4 separate regions of the Homo sapiens genome follow, and all the other regions are linked to region 1. The links are contacts of gene promoters, found by promoter capture Hi-C in blood cells and fetal thymus (Javierre and others, 2016). All regions are on one chromosome and are shown on one strand. The core of a region is centred on a gene start or on the middle of the fragment in contact, and the rest is flanking DNA. Distances in the headings are between cores, read along the strand shown.

Region 1 (3,371 bases), core at 851-3,350:
GCTGCAGTGCTACTGAATGGAAAGGACTATCTCTTTCCCTCAGACTTTTGGCTGCTGAAGCTTTTTGCTCTGGCCTTGGGCTTGACTGGGGGCTGGAGTGCAAAGAAAAGAAGAAAATAGAAAGAACAGGGAATTTTCTTCACTCCCTCTGAGGGTTAGGAGTTTCCTTTTCTGCTCCACGAGCCAGAATCAGAGGGTTTCTCCCGAGTCTCTGTGTGTGCCCCCGACACTCAGTTCCAGGCTTTGGACTACCTTCAGCTTGAAGATGGGTGACACAACCAGTTTGATGGTGCGTCAAATTCTGCTGTTCTTTTTATTTTTAATTTTTTGTTTGAATTTAATTCCTCTAATTTTTCATCAGTGTTAAAATTTCACCTTTTCCCAGCACCCCCAAAAAGCCTGTGGGCACAAAATGGTGGCCACGTGGCAAAGAACTCAGCAAGGAGAGCTGCTGGTTGGTTTCTATCTTTGTTTGTTTGAGACGGAGCTTTGCTCTTTTGCCCAGGCTAGAGTGAAGTTGTTGGGGAAACCAGCCCCACACCACCCGGCGGGTACCCCGAGTCCAGCGAAGACAAAGGAATTAGAATAAGAGTTTAAAAGGCGGGTCCGGGGGACCGGAGCGTTGGAGGCTTGCTCACGGCCCCGAGCTCTCGGCCTCCACCCAATTTATTGGTGTATATTCACACTGTTGTGCAACCATCACCCCCATCCATCTCCAGGACTTTACCATCTTCTCACACTGAAACTGTGCACCCGTTAGTATTTTTCATGGCTATGTGGATGTAATATAATTTCTTTCAGAAACCCCTATTGTTATACATTCAGGTTTCTTTTTTTCTCTATTATAAATATCTTTTATCAGCAATGCTTCAGCAAGATCTCTTGTGCATACATCTTGCAGACATATTATTTCTTTTTCTTTTTTTTTTTTTTTTTTTTTGAGACGGAGTCTCGCTCTGTCACCCAGGCTGGAGTACAGTGGCGCGATCTCGGCTCACTGCAAGCTCCGCCTCCCGGGTTCACGCCATTCTCACGCCCGCCACCATGCCCGGCTAATTTTTTGTATTTTTAGTAGAGACGGGGTTTCACCGTGTTATCCAGGATGGTCTCGGTCTCCTGACCTCGTGATCCGCCCACCTCGGCCTCCCAAAGTCCTGGGATTACAGGCATGAGCCACGGCGCCCGGCCACAGACGTTATTTCTGAAGGATAAATTCCTAGAAATGGATTTGCTAGGGCACGTAGGAGGAATTCCAATTTACACTCACTTGTATGTGTGAGGAAACTTTCAGACTCTACTGTAACGACAGGAGGTATTACCGCTGTTTGTCCATGTGATAGGCAAACGTTTCTGTTAATTTTAATACTGTTTGGATAGCTAGTACCGGCTCAGTTTTTTTAACCCACACCATGTTACTGTCTTGATTCTGGACTTTCGCAGTGTGTCAGTGTAGAAGCAGCTAACGCTTCCGATGTACACAACCTAGACGTTCCATGACCCAGCTGACTTCGATGCTGCAAGCCTCCCTTTCGGTTTCCCGGAGCAAGCGCCCGAGTGCGTGTTGGGCTCCCGGCAGGGCTCCTGGCCGGCCCTCGACGGACTTCCCCGCCTTTGCCCAGTCCTGCCCCTCCGCGGAGGCTTGCCAAGGTCTTGTCTGCTGCGCTTGATGTGTGCAGCTCAGCTTTACTGCGTCTAGGCTAAGCCCCACAGTTTCTTTTACAGAGCGATTGTCCAACTTCAGGCATCTGGGTCCCCGAGTGGCGGGTCTGGGCCGGAGCTGGGAATCAGCCTTTCCAGCAAGGTCCCTGCAGATGCCGCGGGTCTGAGGACTACGCTTTGGAAGGCCTCGCAGTGCGTCTAGATCTGACAGCTGCTCTGCATGAGCCTGGCTCCAGGCTGAAGCAATAGTCGGTCAACACAAAATCGTTCTCCCAAGTTAGGGAAGCAGAAGCCAGACAGGGAGACTGGGTAGGTGCGCGCTGGTACCGCCGCGGCGTTCGCTCCGGCTTCAGTGCACGGCCGGAGGAGGACGCCAGGGGGCAGCAGCGCCACGCTCACCCGCCCAGGACGCGCTTCCGAACGCGCAAGCGCAGTAGGCCCAGTGCGTGCTGGCCCGGGGTGGCAGGAGCCGCAGAGGCTTGGGCTGCAGGTAGGTGCTGCGGCGAGGGGTGAGAGGGCGAAGGGGCGAGGGGGCGTGCAGCTGGGTTTCCCGGGGGACCCTGTACGTGGCCTGGGCCGCACCCCCCGCAGCCCCGGCCGCCTGCCCGCGGCCTGTCCGGAGGCTCCCTAGGAGGCTGCGCTGGGCCTGAGCGGCCGTGTCCACCGCGCCCAGCCCCTATCTCCGCGTCCACCCCTGCGCGGTAGCGGGACGTTAAAGAACCAGAGAAGGGCCCGGCGAGGTGGCTCCAGCCTGTAATCCCAGCGCTTTGGGAGGCCGAGGCGGGAGGATCGCGTGAGCTCAGGCGAGAGCAGCCTGGGCAACATGGCGGAACTTCTGTCTCCGTAAAAAAGCACTTAGCCGGGCGCGGTGGCGCCGCCTATAGTCTTATCTACTCCGGAGGCTGAGGCGGGAGAATGCTTGAACCCGGCGGGGGCGGAGGTTTCAGTGAGCCGAAATCGCGCCACTGCACTTCAGCCTGGGGGCCAGAGTGAGAGGCTGTTTCTATTATTATTACTTTATCATTATTATTATTATTTGAGACGGAGTCTCGCTCTGTCGCCCAGGCTGGAGTGTAGTGGCGCGGTCTTGGCTCCTGGGATTACAGGCGTCCGCCACCACGCCCGGCTAATTTTTGTATTTTTAGTAGAAACGGGGTTTCCCCATGTTGGTCAGGCTGGTCTCGAACGCCTGACCTCAGGTGATCCGCCCGCCTCTGCCTCCCAAAGTGCTGGGATTACAGGCGTGAGCTACTGGGTCCGGCAGAGGCTGTCTCTGTTTAAAAAAACAAAAACCAAACCAAACCAAAACAAAACAAAAAACAAAAAAACCAGAAAGGACCGAGGACTCTGTCTCAGCTCTTTGCCTTTGGGTGTTTATTCTGCACGAGATCATTGTTGCCAGGAGGTGTTAAGTGTAATCATATTCTCTTTTTTTTAGAAAGCAAAATTTCGCTGTTTTGTTGCATAATCTTGTCTTTGCCACCCTTTGCCTTTGCTATAGAACCTTAAGGCTAAATAAGCGTTCAGAATATTTAAAATAATCCTCTTAATGTACCTTGTGCTTTATTGGCGCAATGGAATTCTACTCTAAACTGTATTGGATGACATTACTCTGTGTCTTCCCTAGTTGTAGAAAATATCTTGTAAGTCGGTAAAAACTAGTTTTGTCCCTTTGCTTTTCTTTTCTTTTTAAGCTGTAAATGTGGAGCAGT
Region 2 (3,402 bases), core at 427-2,926, 400 kb before region 1:
CCAGCTTCTCTCCACGATAGGCGAGGAGTCTGATGCCACAAAAGGTTGTCTAAGGTCACACAATTATTAAGAGGCAAGCTCAGAGTTCCGGATTCTTAGGCCAGTGTCCTTTGCATAGGACACAGTCTTTTTATAGATGTTAATTACTGACTCATTACCTGCAGTCGACCCCAGTGCTGTTAATCAGGGCAAGGCACCCACACACCACCAGTCTGGCCTTCAATAAAGCAGCGCTTTGAGCTTCCAGCAGGGTTTGTTGGGGGGTGGGGGGATCCCAGGCCTGTCCTTCTCTGCTCCCTCCTGATCTTCCTCCCCACACTGTTCTTAGTTCAGCAGTCCCGAGGCTGATCTTTCAAATTCAGCCCTTACTCCTTGCTCAGGGATCAGATTCAGCCCCTACTCCTTGCCCAGGGATTGCCTTTGCTCTGATTTACAGACGTGGCCCCAGCAGTTTGATGGCAGCCCTCTGTCCCCTCAGCTCTGGGCGTCCATCTGCTGTGGACACTGGGGTGGCTGACCGGGGCCAGAAGCCCAATACACCCGCAGCCTGTTTGGCCCATCCGCACCCAGAGTTGCTGGGACAAAGCTTCTTCAAACCCAAAGCCTATCGTGGTGGAAAAGCAGACTTTAGTGCCTGGCCAGTCTGAGCAGGACACTTCCTGGTCCTCCGACCAGGCTGCAGCCCTGAGGAACGGTGGCGGCGGCGAGGACAAAGTGTGGACGCTCCTGTCAGTCAGACAAGATGAGGGGAAGCCTCAAAAAAGAAACAACGACTGAAGGATGAAAGGAGAGGCGAGGCGCCCCTCTTCAACCAGGGGTCCCGTGCTGCACTCCGCGCCCCTCCCAGTGCCCCCCATATCTCCGGGATCTTCCTGGTCACGGGCACCCTCCTGGCACATGGTGCTTCAGTGTGATCGGGCCCTGCGGCCACTAAGCCTTTCCTCCTGGTCTTTGCGGAGGTTTCACTTGGAAAAGGCGGCCAGCGCGGTCAGGGTCTGGGACCCTGGCTGCTCTCAGAGAGCCCAGGCCCTGTTCCAGACCACCGGATCAGAATTGCAGTGGAAAACAACCAGGAATTCGTCTTTTTCTCTTTCTTTCCTTCCTTCCCTCCCTCCTTTCTTTCTTTCCTTTCTTCTTTCTTGAGACGTACTCTCGCTCTGTCGCCAGTGGTGCGATCTCGGCTCACCTGCAACCTCCGCCTCCCGGGTTCAAGCGATTCTCCTGCCTCGGCCTCCCGAGTAGCTGGGATTACAGGCGCCCACCACCATGCCCGGCTAATTTTCGTATTTTTAGTAGAGACGGGGTTTCACCATGTCGGCCAGGCTGGTCTCGAACTCCTGACCTCAGGTAATCTGCCTGCCTCGGCCTCCCAAAGTGCTGCGATTACAGGTGTGAGCCACCGCGCCCAGCCGAATTCGTGTTTCTTGAAAGCTCGCCAGATGGTTGGGAAGCACAGGGAGGTTTGGGAAACGCTGCTCATGTGATCCATTTAGACGGTTTCTTTCTGTTCGAACGCTTCTTCCCGCGCACACCTGGGTTCCCCCGGGCTGCGGCCCAGCGATTGATTCCAGCTGGGTCCCGGGCACCAACTCTCCCCTTTGAGGAACGCGCGGGCCTTCTCGGCTACAGCTCTTCTGGGTTTGTGCTGCCCTCCTGGCAAGCGGTACGTGGAAGGGCAGAGCTGTTAAACCAACAGCCCATTGCCTTCCAGTGCTTAGTTTGTGATTTACTCGGGCTGTTACTACCTTTTTATTTAAAATTTGAGGAGCAAATACCGTCTGAAGCACACACCCTTTAAAGGTTAAAGGCCTGCAGTGTGAGGAGTGAGCCACCAGAGGGCACCCGAGCCCCACAACTCACCCTGGTCTAAGGCCCCCGCAAGGCCCAGCCCAGGGAGGCCGTGCAGCGCGTCCAGGAGCCTGCGGCTTCTGAGGTCTGATCCCAGGAAAGAATTGGACACTTATTTAAAAGCCGGGTACGGTAGCTCACGCCTGTAATCCCAGCACTTTGGGAGGGCGAGGTGGAAGGATCTCTTGAGCTCAGGAGTTCAAGACCAGCCTGGGCAACATGGCAAGGCCCTGTCTCTGCCTAAAAAATAAAAGCCATGGTTTTCCCATCTCTACCAATAGTGAGAGGTGTGGCTATTGAAAAAATGTCATTTGTGTGGATAGAGCCCAGGAAGAAAAAGGGTTGGCTGATTGGATTAAAGTGTTATCCTGCCCAGTGGTGGATGTAATAAGATTTAAACCAAAACAATTACCTCTAGAGTGAAATTTTAGGCATCAAGAGATGAGAGGTTATTTAGGAGGGCAGTGAGAATTTCAAATTCAGATACTTTGGATCCTGAATCCAGACCTTCTGAATCCTGTGAACGCTGACAGCATCCCTGCTCCCTCCCACAAAACCTCCCTACTGGTAGTGAGAAGAGGATCGGAGTATTTGAAATGCTGGCTGGCTTAGAGCCAGGCAGGCTACAGCAGGAATGACTGAGGTTAGACATAAGGAAGGCCCCGAGGAAGGGAGCACTGGTAAACCCTGATGGGTGACTGAGGAAGGGGGAGCTCATGGACCTCCAGAAGGCAGGGAGTGTGTTCTCTCCATGATAAACTGGCACACTCTGGTTAGTGGGATTGCTTATTAAGTATCATGGTACAGAGACGGTGAGAGCACTGGGCTGTGGGAGGTGTGGTCCCAGCCCCAATCCCGCCCCCACCTCACTGTGACTTCACCTCCCCAGGTGTTGGTGAGGAGCAGGTAACTCACAAGTAAGCTTTTTATAGAGGAAAGACAGTTCCCTTAGACTTGTTTTTTTTTGTTTTTTGTTTTTGTTTTGTTTTGAGACAGAGTTTCGCTCTTGTCCCCCAGGCTGGAGTGCAAATGGCGCTATCTTGGCTCACTGCAACCTCCACCTCCCGGGTTCAAGCGATTCTCCTGCCTTAGCTTCCCAAGTAGCGTAGCTGGGATTACAGGCACGGGTTGCCACGCCCAGCTAAGTTTTGTATTTGTAATAGAGATAGGGTTTCACCATGTCGGCCAGGCTGGTCTCAAACTCCTGACCTCCTGTGATCTGCCTGCCTCGGCCTCCCAAAGTGCTGGGATTATAGGCGTGAGCCACCGTGCACAGCCAGGCTTCTTTTTTTCTCATCTAAACTCCTTGCTTTTTAATCTTTTCTCATAAGTCTTCCTTTCTAGATCCCGGGTCTCTCGATGTCCCCACAATAAACATATTTAACTTCCTAACTGTGTTGTCCTAAACAAAACAGTGCCCTAAGACGGCTCCAGACAGGCTGGGGTGCTGCTAGGAGTGCCATTCGTAGGGTGACCAAGTGACTGTCAGTATCATGTAGTTGTATTCTTTGCAGTTAAGGCAATTAATTAAATAAATACCTCAATGTGATTTTG
Region 3 (3,109 bases), core at 106-2,605, 350 kb after region 1:
TTCCTTCTTCCTTTTTCTTCCTCCTTTTTTCATCTTGTCCTCTTCCTCCTACTTACCCTTCCCCCTTTATCTTCCTTTGTCCCTCCTCTCTTCTCACTTTCTTTTTCTCACTAATTATAGTCTCATTTAAACTTTTTTTGTATGCTTAGTCTCATCTTTAAAATGGGGAAACATATATGTGTCATTATGAAATGTTTTTTGCTTTAAATTGTTAAAGATCAGTAAGGGAGTCTTTTTTCTTCACCTTTGAAATTGTAGTGCCAAAACTCAGACAAACCAGTGATGTTCCAAAAGTTGATGGGAGAAGAACCCAAACATTTGATTCTTCCTTCATTGATTTTTCTTTCATTGGTAAGATATTTTAGTGAAATATTATATGTTGAATTGTCAATAACAAAAGCCATCTACAAGCATTCTTTTTCCTCTTTTAGCCATAGCAACAAACATGCCATAAAATGGAAGTTATAGAAATAAGGTTAAGTGAATTAAACTAGGTTTTGTAATAAGCTCACTTCTTCCTTAGACTCAGGTCAGAAGACATTTAAAAGAAGAGGATCTATCATAAACTGGGGCTGTTGCTGGGGTTCTAGCACTTGCCTGGACAATGTGTCTGCACCATCAACATCACCTATGCCTGGACAGCTCTTTGGAGTTTCTCTGCCAAATATGTGTGAGAATGACAATCTGCTCAAACCTGTCCTGGTAAGGCTCACTTGACCTGTTAGCTAATGGGAAAGGGGGTTTGGGAAAGGAGAGCTCTGAGAGGTAAATATGTCACCAAATGGAAAAATTATAGACGCCACTGTCTTTGGCTAAAAATCTGATTTAACTACTGTAGAATCATAAGGAAGACATATAGGGAGAGATCATATAGTTTCCTGATTTCAGGAAAGACCCACATAAACCTACTCAGATAAATTAGAATTTTCTCTTTAGACAGAGAATTCACATTCTCTCACACAAATCCTTTCTTCAACTCCACATTGTTATGAAAGTCCTCTTTTATCAGTGTAGCAGCAGAGACTACTCAATGTTATGCTTAAGTTTTAAAAACTTTTATTATTTATATGTCAAGTACTTAAGCATAAAGGTACGTTCCCTGGCATTCATTTATCTTTTGTCTGTAGAATGGGTCAGATGAAAACCACTGAGTTATTTCCAGTTGACATATTAAAGAATCACTACTAAGCAGCATTTATTGAGTATTCATTATCCTTCAGGTGTTATACTAGATGTGTGGCATTTAATGCTATATTGTTCATCTATAAGTGCCAGACACTCATCTAGCCACCTTATTATTTATCCTTCACAGCAAACGTAGGAGGTGGTTCTTACTATGTCACCATCTCTACTTCATGGTCTGTGTTTTCAAAAGCCTCAGTACTTTACTCAAGGATACATAGTAGCTAAGTGGCCTAACTAGGTTTTAAATCCTACAGATTGCTTGTCTCCAAAACCCATTCTCTTCCTGCACTGTAAGCAGAGGACATACTGATACAAAGAAAGCAAAATTAGAGAACACTTAAAATCCACTCTCTTAGCCATTTTTAGAAATGCAGTACCTTGTTATTGAGTATAGTAATCATGTTATTTAATAGAGCACCTGACCTTACTTCTGCTATCTAACTGAACTTTTGTATCCTTTGACCAATATCTCCCCAACCTCACCACCACCCCAGCCCCTGGTAACCACCATTGCGCTCCCCAAAAAAATTGACTTGAATCTTTCTAGCTGTTCTTTTAGTCCCAATCTTTTAGTACTTTTACCCTAGCACAACCCCATAGCCTCTGGTAGCCAAAGGGGGTAAGTATGTGCCAAAAAGGATAAGTATTCCCTTGTCTGTATGTGTGAAATGCCATTTTGCTTATTTCCTTTGTTTCCCTATTGGATGTACTTTTCTTTCTTAATCAAAAAGGACCCCTCACCAAAGGTGTCTTCAGGAAAGCAGCCAGTTTAAAATCCTGCAGAAAATGAGAAATTAAATTCTGGAGGTGAAGTAAACCTAGATTGTGAATCTATTTTTGAGATAGCCTCTGTATTGAAGGTAAGAAAAATTTTCTTTTAATCTACCTGATGGTATAGCTCTGGAGCAAGAAAAAGGTGTTTTTATTTTTTTTATGAACATTATTTATATTTGCAAAGACCCATAATCAATTTATAACTTTAACACTAAAAGAGTGTTACAAACACTTTTATAAAGTCAACATTGGACTTTAAAAACTACCACCAGTGATATGACATATCAAATATGTTTAAAAATTTTTTTTCCCACACTAACCTCATCTTTACTTCTGCAACCCCATGTAAAAAATAAAACTTTGTTAAAATAATAAAAAGACACACACATTTACCAAAACAAACATCATGCCTATTAGTATTTTCTGTCTTGGCCAGGCATGGTGGCTCACACCTGTAATCCCAGCGCTTTAGGGGGCTGAGGAGGGGCAGATCAGTTGAGGTCAGGAGTTTGAGAACAGCCTGGCCAATAATGGTGAAACCCCATCTCTGCTAAATATACAAAAATTTGCATGGTATGGTGGCTCACGCCAGTAATCCCAGCTACTTGGGAGTCTGAGGCCTGGGAATCGCTTGATTCTTGGAGAGGAAGGTAACAATGAGCCGAGGTCACACCACTGTACTCCAGCCTGGGTGACAGAGCAAGACTCTGTCTCAAAAAAAAAAAAAAAAAAAAAAAATTCTGTCTCACTACCTTCATAATAAAGGCAGTTTTCAAAACTAAACTTTTGTTGCATGTTTGAAAATAGTTACAGAGGTTTGCCATAATAAACATTTGCCTCACAACTGAAACAAAAAAAATTGCTGAGATCACTGAAATTTTTGTTTACATAACCATTACGCCCAAAAATACTCTTTTCCTTGTTCCCTAATGCCTTTTACTCTAAAAGTGGAGTGGGAACAATCTCAGCATCTGAGTTCCTTTTACCTTTACCACATTTGATATTCTTTGTGGTTCTTACCCTTTAGCCATGGCTACAAAAGTCACATATATAGTTACAGAGATAGAGTTCTAATTTTTTTTCTGCCCCACATTCTTGCAAATGCCCTACCTTTTTGGAAAACCTCAAGTCAAAACTAGCTTAAAGCAGA
Region 4 (3,216 bases), core at 262-2,761, 370 kb after region 1:
AACCAAAACTAAGAAAGAAGGGTATGGCTTTTTAGAAAGCAAAGACAAATAGCAGGTTAGGAATTAAAATGTCCACGTAGAATTTACTGATATATAAATCATTGTATTAGCCAAGATTCTTTTCATTGCAAATGACAAACCTTTGAATACATTTACTTTAGACCAAATGGAAAGTTTACTTGTCTGTAGAGCCCACAGGAATGGTTAAATAATATGAGCAGGGAAACCATGATAAAAAGAAATTTTGTGGCCAGGCGTGGTGGCTCATGCCTGTAATCCCAGCACTTTGGGAGGCCAAGATGGGCAGATCACAAAGTCAGGAGATCGAGATCATCCTGGCAATCATGGTGAAACCCCATCTCTACCAAAAATACAAACTACAAAAAAAATTAGCCACGCGTGGTGGTGGGTGCCTGTAGTCCCAGGTACTTGGGAGGCTGAGGAAGGAGAATGGCATGAACCCAAGAGGCAGAGCTTGCAGTGAGCTGAGATCGTGCCATTGCATTCTAGCCTGGGCGATTGAGCGAGACTCCAACTCCAAAAAAAAAAAAAAAGAAAGAAAGAAATTTTGTAAGGATTTGAACTGTGGACTCAAATGCCAACAATGCTGTCTGTATCTCTCTTTGATTGGTTTCTGTCAGAATACCAGCTCAATTTTTATCACACTCAGTATATTTATATTGTGGAAAATATAAACATTTATTGTTCACAATTTTATAGTCTATGACTTGAACAACCAAATAGATTTCTTCATTGGCCTCATGGATACTACACTTGCTAAAATAATCCCCTCTAGTAAATGTCATGGGCCACTTAGTGTATCGCAAAAATTCTCCAATAATAAAATACATAAATAAAAGTAATATTTTGGTTGTCATCTTAGTCCATTTGCACTGCCATACCAAAATACCACGGACTAGGTGACTTATAAACAAGTTTAAAAACTCACAATAAGTGACCAGATTTTTTTCTCTTAGACCAATGACTTGCAACCAAGTAAGAATGCAGTGTCTTTCACTGGAGCCTCTTGGTTGGAGCTGAGGGAGAAGCACTTTCTTAAAGAAGGGGTTGGAGGTGTGAAAAATAAAAACAACCTACTAGATTATGTGTTTGCAGAACAATATTCATCATGTTATTCAGTTCCTCTCATAAAAAGATTCAAATGATAAATGCTCATAATTTAAAACTGAAAAAGGACTTTTTTCCCCAAAGCTATTTTTATTGGGCAATAAAATGACAGAGCCCATTATTTTTCCTATTTTTGCTGTTGCTACCAGAAGCTTCAGAATTAAATCATAATATAACATCAATAACCAACTTGCATCAGGTTTATGGAAACCATTTCCACTATTTTCTATAAGGTTTTTAAATTTTTCTAATTTTTAAATTATTTCTGTGCCTTTAAAATGCTTTTGGATTACTTTCAGAAACAGATGAAGAAAAATAAGTAAGTAATTGACAAAGAACTCACAACATTGGCCTCATGGGTACTACACTTGCTAAAATAATCCCCTCTAGTAAATGTCATGGGCCACTTAGTGTACGGCAAAAATTCTCCAATAATAAAATAAAATGCATAAATAAAAAGAATATTTTGGTTGTCATCTTAGTCCATTTGGACTTCCATACCAAAATACCATGGACTAGGTGACTTATAAACAACATAAATTTACTTCTCACAGTTCATGATTTAAAATACAAATGTCATTAGGTCATAAACACAGTAGAATACCTTCAACCACTCAAGCTTAATTGGTATGTTCCATCTCACAGACAACATGCTTAAATACATTATTTAATATTAATTATTACAGACTGGTTTAAAATATAAAATCTTCAAGAAATACTTTAATTTCCCTTGGTGATGGAAAGTCTATCCCTCTGAAATATAACACCTTCCAATTTCCTGTCTCTCTACACAATGCAGCTGTGGGGATTTTTGAGAAAGTGACAAGAAATGTCTTCTTGTCCTTGTTGACAGGGTTTTATGGTGATTGAATAATATTTTCAGTTTAAATATGTAAAACACATATTACTTCAGTAAAATGCTTAGTACTTGAAACCTACCAGAAAAAATGAAGGTAATATAAATCAGTGCATAGCAGTTTGAGTTGAATTGTGATTTAAATTCTCCTGCTCTCTCATAGAGGAAAAACTGTGTAGACAGTAGTTTTACATGGACCTCATCCCAGTTTCACCATGTCTGATAACAAAACTAATGCAAAGATGCTTCTAGTCATAGGCCTGTGTCCTCTAAAAATAAGAAAAATTAATTGTGACTGTTCATCTTTCCAAGACACCCCATTCCTATGCTTCTGATATGGGTAAATATTTGTAAGAGTATTAGCAACAAAACATGAATAAGCCCCACCTCCACTCTCAAAGGTCTAAAGCTGGAAAGGAGTAGTGAAATTGAAAAGAGACTAAAATCTATTAAACATTTACTATAAACAAAACACTGTGTTAAGTGTTTGGATTATATATAATTCCTGAGTTTATAGAGACTGATTCTTGTAAAGAACATCATTATTTAAATTTAAAAATAAGTATAATAAATGTATAAATAAGAAATAAATATTATTATAAGTTTTTCTATCTGGGGTCAGTGAACTAAAGCTCATAGACAATCTCATCTACAAACCATTTTCATGTAGACCACAAACTAAGAACGGTTTATTAAATTTTTAAGAATTGCATTAAATGGTTATATGGGTACCTGCATAATATATTTGATTTTGCCTAATGGCTCACAAAGCCTAAAATACGTTCTATCTGGCCCTTTACAAAAATAGTTTATAGATCCTATTCTATAGAGATTTGACCTAGTCAGAATAGTAAATAGTATAGATGAATGACAAATTAAGAATATAAATAAAACATTTTATTAATATATTTTTATCAGTAATTTCATAGAAAAATATACACTCAGAATTAATGTGAAAATAGATTACTTAGTTATTTGGCATATGCAACTAAGTGGAAGGCCATATAGTATGCTGGATTCTTGTCGTGTGTGACGTGGGGTCTTGGATATTAGGCTTTTTGACATATATCTATTGCAGAAGCAATTTTTATGGAAATAAAGTATATTAGTCTGTGCTCACACTGTTATAAAGAAATACCTGAGACTGGGTAATTGATCAAGAAAATAGGTTTAATTAGTTCACAGTTCTGCAGGCTATACAGGAAGCATGGCAGCATCTTCAGGGCGGTGGG

Evidence for each region. Contacts are between HindIII fragments. The CHiCAGO score rates a contact against its expected background, and 5 or more counts as called.
Region 2: a fragment that was not itself captured here is called in contact with the fragment with the promoter of POMK in region 1 in 1 of 17 cell types (fetal thymus); the score reaches 5.1 in fetal thymus.
Region 3: a contact is called between a fragment that was not itself captured here and the fragment with the promoter of POMK in region 1, in 3 of 17 cell types (naive B cells, total B cells and M1 macrophages). The highest score is 11.0, in naive B cells.
Region 4: a contact is called between a fragment that was not itself captured here and the fragment with the promoter of POMK in region 1, in 2 of 17 cell types (total B cells and naive B cells). The highest score is 5.2, in total B cells.

Annotation. Positions count from the first base shown.
Region 1 is chr8:43,091,415-43,094,785 of GRCh38, forward strand. POMK (protein O-mannose kinase) reads left to right here and starts at 2,101. Exons shown (of 5, transcript NM_032237.5): 1 at 2,101-2,149. RefSeq lists enhancers at 1,065-1,971, 1,972-2,877 and a silencer at 2,129-2,338. The HindIII fragment of the contact is 4,326 bases long and covers 59-3,371 here.
Region 2 is chr8:42,690,837-42,694,238 of GRCh38, forward strand. No RefSeq gene overlaps it. Among named protein-coding and RNA genes, the nearest start is that of CHRNB3, 4.8 kb to the right of the region's middle. The HindIII fragment of the contact is 2,184 bases long and covers 585-2,768 here.
Region 3 is chr8:43,442,380-43,445,488 of GRCh38, forward strand. It overlaps the pseudogene LOC100420534. Among named protein-coding and RNA genes, the nearest start is that of POTEA, 150 kb to the left of the region's middle. The HindIII fragment of the contact is 8,326 bases long and covers 1-3,109 here.
Region 4 is chr8:43,463,133-43,466,348 of GRCh38, forward strand. No RefSeq gene overlaps it. Among named protein-coding and RNA genes, the nearest start is that of POTEA, 170 kb to the left of the region's middle. The HindIII fragment of the contact is 467 bases long and covers 1,279-1,745 here.